Regions from separate parts of the Homo sapiens genome. Here region 2 is linked to region 1. Evidence: promoter capture Hi-C in 16 types of primary human blood cells and fetal thymus (Javierre and others, 2016). All regions are on one chromosome and are shown on one strand. The core of a region is centred on a gene start or on the middle of the fragment in contact, and the rest is flanking DNA. Distances in the headings are between cores, read along the strand shown. Region 1 holds the start of PLA2G4A (phospholipase A2 group IVA). Region 2 has its middle 48 kb from the start of PLA2G4A.

Region 1 (3,784 bases), core at 166-2,665:
TGTCTGGGGGAAAGAGATGAAAACTACCAGTGTGCTCTCTGCTCCTCTAATTAACATACACCTCCTTTCTAGAAATTCAGGGATTTCTTTGGAAAGAGAAATTTTTTTTTTTTTTTTTTTTTTTTTTTTTTTTTTTTTTTTTTTTTTTTTTTGAGACGGAGTCTCGCTCTGTGGCCCAGGCGGGAGTGCAATGGCGCAATCTTGGCTCACTGCAAGCTCTGCCTCCCGGGTTCACGCCATTCTCCTGCCTCAGCCTCCCAAGTAGCTGGGACTACAGGCGCCCGCCACCACACCCGGCTAATTTTTTGTATTTTTAGTAGAGACGGGGGTTTCACCGTGTTAGCCAGGATAGTCTCGATCTCCTGACCTCGTGATCCGCCCGCCTTGGCCTCCCAAAGTGCTGGGATTACAGGCGTGAGCCACCGTGCCCAGCCCGAAAAATGTTTATTATAAATCTATCCTTCCTAAAAAAGACATTACTGGCTTTTTTTTTTTTCAAAGAGAGATTTATAATATGCCAGGTTGAATTTAGGGGAAAAAAATAAAAACAAATAAGAGTTGAATGTTGGGCTACAGAAAGCAGATATTCCAGAAGATTTAGTGAAATTATATTCTTTGAAAATATTGTAAGAGAGTTAGGAGAGTGAGTTCAGTATTTAATTAAAGGCAAAAACAAGATCCTGTGTTTGAAAAACAAGATATACTAAATGAACATGTCAATCTTTAAAGACATGAATTGATTCTCATGGAATTTGGGTACATTTAAACAATGCACCTTCTTCATTACAGTGCTATAAGGTATTTGGATTTACACTGCAAATTTGGAATTCAACCTGATTTCATTTTCTTCCCTAAATCTCAACATATATATTACATTATTTGGTATGCCTTTAATCTTAAATTTACAAAGAAATTATTATCAACACAGGTGTTCTGAGTCTGGAGTGGAAATATTTAAACAGATTTGATTTTTAAAGTGGTCTGATACTCATTTTTTAAAAATGTACATTTTTATATTTGGGGTTTGTTATAAACTTTGCCTTTTTAAATAATGCAAAAATGCTCTAGGTTATTCACTGTCTTTTCAATTTTGTTCTCCTTTGGAAAAAAGGAGGAAGTAGTTACTACTTAAGGACAAGTAGCAATTTCAGACGCGCGCACGCACACACACACACACACACACACACATCACACACACAGAAATCCACAACAGCACTCATGGAATTTAGGACTGATTAATTTACATATTATTTAAGCATATTTTCTGACTTCAAACTCCTGGTTCTAATAACTAAGCATTTACATTTACAATATTAGCTTCTATGAGAAGAGAGCGTTCTCCCTCTTCCCCTTTAATTCCACCTTAAAACATCTGCAAAAGCGCAAGGAGACCAGCCCACATTTTAGCCCCTCCTACTCAGGATAAGACTTTCTCTAAGTCCGGAGCTGAAAAAGGATCCTGACTGAAAGCTAGAGGCATTGAGGAGCCTGAAGATTCTCAGGTAACTCTGGGAACTGTAAGCAATATATTTATTCTTCCTCTGCTCCACTTCTCTCTCCCACCCTCCTTAGCTTTTACTTGGTAGTTTACTTGGAAGGAAGAAAGGACGGAGGGGAAACCTCGCTGCTTTAAAAAGTCAGCATGTCCTCTGCCTTTTGAAGTGAAACACAGATTAGGGACCTCAATTTTCTTCAAACCCACGCAGATTTGCCTTCCTGGATCTAAATGCACTGTGGAGTCAAAGATTAAGGTGTTTCTTTGGGTTGGAATCCCAGAAAGTTAGCATTCAAAACGGCGGTGAGGTGGCGCTTATTAGCGTTCCACGTGATGACACCCAATGGTTACTGATCCCCAAACTTGAGCAGCAGCATGCTGTGCTGTTTGACAGCCCTAGCGATCTTTAGCGAGAGACTTTGTTGACTCACTTAACTTTTAATTTCTAAAAATTGGTCATTTTTGTTACTTATGGGACGCTTTCCTGGCTAGTCAATATTTTGCAGAATTATGCGAAAGAAAGAGGATTATTGAAAAATTAACTGTAAACGGACTGGTGTTCTGATGATCCACCCTTCCCCTAAGTTACTTGGCTTGCCAAGAGAAAAAAAAAATCTCAAAACTAGATACTAGAAAAGATTTGATCAAATTACATAGTTAAATTTTGAGTGTGGATATTTCAGTAATTTTGTTTCCAAAAAAAACAGAAAAAAAAGGTATTTGATTTTAAAGTATCAGTGGATGAATGTATCTGTCTCCTACAATTTATAATCATTTTAGTCTTAAAAATAAATTCACCTCCAAAACCAGAACAAGAAATACTCCTCATATGGGTTGATGATGTCAGCATTTATTCAGCTAAGGCAGATGGAGAGTATTAGAGGCGTACTGTCTGAATGGGTGTCAATTCTAAAGTTATATTTGCCAATATAATTTGAGTTCAAAGAAGATTTGTATTTTTGTTTCTCTTTGTTGTTTAAATTTAGAATTGTGGCTCAAGGGATATTTGTAGAGGACTGTAGTGAAACAAGCTCTGTTAAGAATTTTAAAGTTACATTCTACAGGTTCCTACACCTTGCCAATCAAGTTAGAGGTTGGGATAAGAAACAGGTATTTACTTCTTTCATTAGCTCCGGAAGAGTTAAATTTTAAATTAAGCAATAATTGTGAAATGCATAGAGAAGTGTTTAATGTGCATTTGCTCAAAGGAGTTTTACAAACTTCCCTTAGGGGAAGCATATTTTTTGAGATAAGACATTGCATCTTTTTAACATATTTTTAAAAAGTAAGTTATTCTGGCTGGGCGCAGTGGCTCATGCCCGTAATACCAGCACTTTGGGAGGCCGAGGCGGGTGGATCACTTGAGGGCAGGAGTTCGAGACCAGCCTGGCCAACGTGGTGAAACCCCATCTCTACTAAAAATAGAAAAACTAGCCGGACGTGGTGGCAGGTGCCTGTAATCCCAGCTACTTGGGAGGCTGAGGCATGAGAATCGCTTGAACCCAGGAGGTGGAGGTTGCAGTGAGCCAAGATCGCGCCATTGCACTCCTGCCTGAGCGAAAACAGCGAAGCTCTGTCTCAAAAAAAAAAAAAAAAAAAAAAAAGTAAGTTATTCTGAAGTGTTTTGCATTTTTGCATTTACATTTAATTAGGAAAAGAAAAATTATTAAATAGATTTTTAGCAACTGAAAATGTTCATTCCATAGAGGTTATTTGGCTTATGTTTTTAACCCATTATCTTTTCTAGTGCTGGTACTTAGAAAGCAGTCATAAAATCGAATCATCTACATATTAAAATTATGTTCCAGGAATAAAAAAGAGGAAGACAGAATTAGTTGTGGTTCCCATTCATCTTGTTTGCTTTTATTTACCATCAGTTTTTTCCTCCTTCTTGCTCCAGATTGTATAGCTTGCTTGCTTGCTTGCTTGCTTTCTTTCTTTCTTTCTTTCTTTCTTTCTTTCTTTCTTTCTTTCTTTCTTTCTTTCTTTCTTTTTCTTTCTTTCTTACTTTTTCTTTCTTTTCTTTTTCTTTCTTTTGTTTTTGTTCCATCAAAGACACTTTTATAATCTTGTGACAGGTATGGACCCCTCCCTAGAATAATGCACATTATGCCATTCCAACACACACAAATTTAAAAACACCTTTAAGAAGTTCACAAATCCCCAAAGACAATTCATATTACATGAAAATGCAGTATTTCTTAAAACTTTGGAGTTTTCTGATAATATAAAATGATTAATTATAAAATCATTTTACTTATAAGTAAGGAACTAACAGTGGATATTGTA
Region 2 (3,781 bases), core at 947-3,446, 48 kb before region 1:
GTTAAGTCTGGTTAATTTTGTTGTTGTGTTCTTTAAGTTGGCAAGTCAGCACCTGTGTATTTAAATAAACACTCATGTTTCCAAATACACTCATTATTTTTATTGTTGACATTTATTAAATTTAATTTAAACTTATTATGCTTGCTCCAAGCAAAAAGAAGCAGCAGAATGAAACCACCTAACCTCTAAACAGGCATTAGCAGACATCGCTACTTGCCCAAGCACTAGTAGGTGTATCTTTGTTTCTAGGGAATGATACTTTTCTATTTTCCTGTTCTTGAAATTGCTATTTGAGTCTTTGAGGCATCAAATAGATGCAGATTAGTACATCCCAGTTTCATTTAAAATGTTGCAGATCTGGTGCCTTTGTTCTTTTACAATCTCTTCCATTGTGACAGGTAGGTGAACAGATATCTGCTGCTTTGGGGTATTAGAAGGAAATAGATAGTAATGCCTTACTCCACTTGGGCTGCTATAAGGGAATCCCTTACGATGTGTAGCTTAAACAATAGACATTTCTTTCTCACAATTCTGGAGGGTGGAACATCCAAGATCAAGGTACTGACAGATTTGTTTCTTAGTGAGGGCTTGCCTCCTGGTGCACAGATGGCCACCACCACGCTGTGAGCTTTCATGATCTCTTCTTTGTGTACAGGCAGAGAAAGTTCTCTGTGTCTTTCTGTCTTTATGAGGGTACAAATCTCATCATTAGGGTCCCACTTTCATGGCCTACTCTAGACTTAATTATCTCCCACATGTTCTACCTCCAAATACCATCACATTGGGGGTTAGGGTCTTATCATATGAATTTTGGGGAGACATAACTATTCATCTCACAACAGAGAGATGATTGGTAGACAGATCAAAAATATTTTCAGCTCTGTTAAGCTACTTATGATGATTGAATGAACTTCCTCTTTCCCCTTTCCCAAATAGCTTTCCAACTTAACACATAAATTTAAGATTTCAGCGAATGCTATGTTGATCTGAAGTATTGCTTTCCATAACACATGTCTGTTTAGGTGCAATGATTGCTTTTACAGATTCCTCCAGGGATTTAGGTCAATGTAAATTATATTTTCATCATGTGAATTACTTTTGAAATTAGATCTTCTTTTCTATTATTCTTCCTCTCTCCTTCTTCTTTGCTCCCTCCTCTCCAGTCACACAGGCCTCCTTTCTGTTCCTTGAACAAACCACACCTGCCACCTTAGATGTCTACTGGCGAACTCCCTTACCTCTTTTAAACCTTGGCTCAATTTTTATCATTGAGTTTACTTGAGATTACTCTGGGGATTCTCTTAAAAATTACCTACCCCCCACATCACACTCATGATCACCCTTACCCCATTCGGTTCTAATTTTTTTCCTATAGCACTAATTATCTTTGCTGGGGCTCAGAAAATGATGTGATATACTTTGGCATATCATTTTCTGAGCCCCAACAAAGATAAAGTGACATATTTTGGCATGTTGAGGTCTTTTAACTAAAGGCAATCTGAAAGCTTCAGAAACAGCATCAGAACAAAGCTCTATCTGATCTTTTCCTGACCATCTGTCTCTGGCCCCTCATTTTCCCCTAACATGAGTCATAGAAACCAGAATTATTCTTCCCCAAGGCAGGGTAGAAACAAGAACCTCTTTTCCCCAAAGCAAGCTATAAAAACTGAAATTATTGTGTACTCTTTCCCTACCTTTCTGTGTAGAAATTGGCCATAAAAAAGTTCACTGATGTACCATGTCAGATAGGAGGTCATAAGACCTCATTTCAAAGGGGTCTTACCCATAGCTGGGAGGAAGAGATGCTACAACAAATAGGTCAAAAAGAATCTGAACAGACAAGCCTTGCTGGGTTTCTCTACTCAGTCTACTAGTATTTGACCATATCCTTTTTTGTCCATATTTTTATAAGATCCTCTGTTCTTCATTGAACCAATACATAAAAATGTATCCTTGGCCGGGCACGGTGGCTCATGCCTGTAATCCCAGCACTTTGGGAGGCTGAGGTGGGCAGATCACCTGAGGTCTGGAGTTCGAGACCAGCCTGACCAACATGGAGAAACCCTGTCTCTACTAAAAATACAAAATTAGCCAGGTGTGGTGGCTCATGCCTGTAATCCTAGCTACTCGGGAGGCTGAGGCAGGAGAATGGCTTGAACCCGGGAGGCAGAGGTTGCAGTGAGCCGAGATCGAGCCATTGCACTCCAGCCTGGGCAACAAGAGCAAAATTCCATCTCAAAAAAAAAAAAAAGTATCCTTGGGTCTTCATTCTAAAGGATCTCATGACACATAAATTTTGATTAAATAAATTTGTTTTGCTTTTCTCTCGTTAAGGTGTCTCTTGTTATAGGTGTGTCAGCCATGGAAAGGTTAGCACACCTTTTCACTCCTACATCTTCTACATACTAAATAAATATTTGTTATATCTATGGTTATTGACCATCTTTTCCTATTCAAATGAAAGTTGCATGACAGCAGGAATCTTTGTTTTGCTCACTGCTGTACCCCAAGCATCCAGCTTATAGTAAGCTCTTGGTAAGTTTTTCTTGAATAAATTGGCAGAATAAAACATATAAAGAGCAAGTAGCTTACTGCTAGTCTAGCCAAAATTGAACAAATATACTTCTCTGTGTTCACAAATGAATTGTGTAAAAGCACTGTACTTCTCTTGTAAAGTATTAAATTGGAAGATACGTATAATTCATTTTACTTTATTCTAAATGAATTATTGTTGCTTTTCAGGCCAGATGTAGCTAAAATCAATCCTCAAACTGTTGCCTTTTTAAACAGTAAATATGGAGAAAAAAATCTTCATCAAATTTGATAGTTAGAATAATAAAAGAGATAGTTACCTTCCAAAGTAAAAAAATTTATTTATAAATCAAGTGAAAGCTTGGTGATGTTAAAAAAAATTATTAGAGATGGAGTCTGGGCACAGGTTATTTCTTTTGCTGCTTTATTTATCTTGGTAACTTGCTCTGTAGCTTTCTGTGCCTCAGTTTTTCTCCCTTTGTTTTCTAGTTTGCCAGATCTCTTCTGCATGGAGTTGAAACTACGTAGACCCTCATTTCATCCTCGTTGTCAGTAAAAGGGACAAAAGAAATAGCCTACTCATCTATCGCTTTCTGCTGGCGTTACTCTTGCCCTTGTTCCCATTCTCTGTAATAGTCTTCTGCTGTGATCCAGCCCCACTGCATTTCCAAATTCTGGCAACTTCCAAGTGCTGAAGTCACTTTGGCTGAGAACTTCCTTTGGTCCTCCCAGTTTCCCTCTCTGGGTCCTCCCAGTTCCCTCTGCCTGAATCTGACAAAACAAATATAGTGCATCAGTCTTCCTTGCTGAACTTCCAAGTTACACCTCATCCTGTAGGTATCTAGTTCTGTGTGCTATGTCAGACTTGGTAATAACAGCCGTTTCTTCCACAGTCGATTCTGTCTTTTTACTGCTTACCTTTGAACTATCTCCTATTTTTCTTTTGCCATCTATTTTAGTTTTTTTTTGTTTTGTTTTTTTACCTCCCAGGTAGACTTCCTACTTGCCTCACTCTAGTACATGGGGAGAATTACAGCTTTCGGCCATTCAAAGAGTGCTGCATCTTACTATAATTATCCACAGTGTACCTGGCTACATGTCAAGATATGAGTTATCTAATCTTTACATCTTAAAAAACATCAGAATAGACTATGTAATTTGCAGTCTTTTTCTGTCCTATGAGAGTTTATTACATGAATTTGTAAACTTAAGCAGCCAAACATGTCATCGATTTGTTTATCACACGTAG

Evidence for each region. The method cuts DNA at HindIII sites, captures the fragments that hold promoters and counts their contacts. A CHiCAGO score of 5 or more calls a contact.
Region 2: a contact is called between a fragment that was not itself captured here and the fragment with the promoter of PLA2G4A in region 1, in 1 of 17 cell types (monocytes). The highest score is 5.3, in monocytes.

Annotation. Positions count from the first base shown.
Region 1 is chr1:186,827,534-186,831,317 of GRCh38, forward strand. It overlaps PLA2G4A (phospholipase A2 group IVA), which reads left to right and starts at 1,416. Exons shown (of 18, transcript NM_024420.3): 1 at 1,416-1,502. The HindIII fragment of the contact is 13,801 bases long and covers 1-3,784 here.
Region 2 is chr1:186,778,684-186,782,464 of GRCh38, forward strand. No RefSeq gene overlaps it. Among named protein-coding and RNA genes, the nearest start is that of PLA2G4A, 48 kb to the right of the region's middle. The HindIII fragment of the contact is 1,387 bases long and covers 1,504-2,890 here.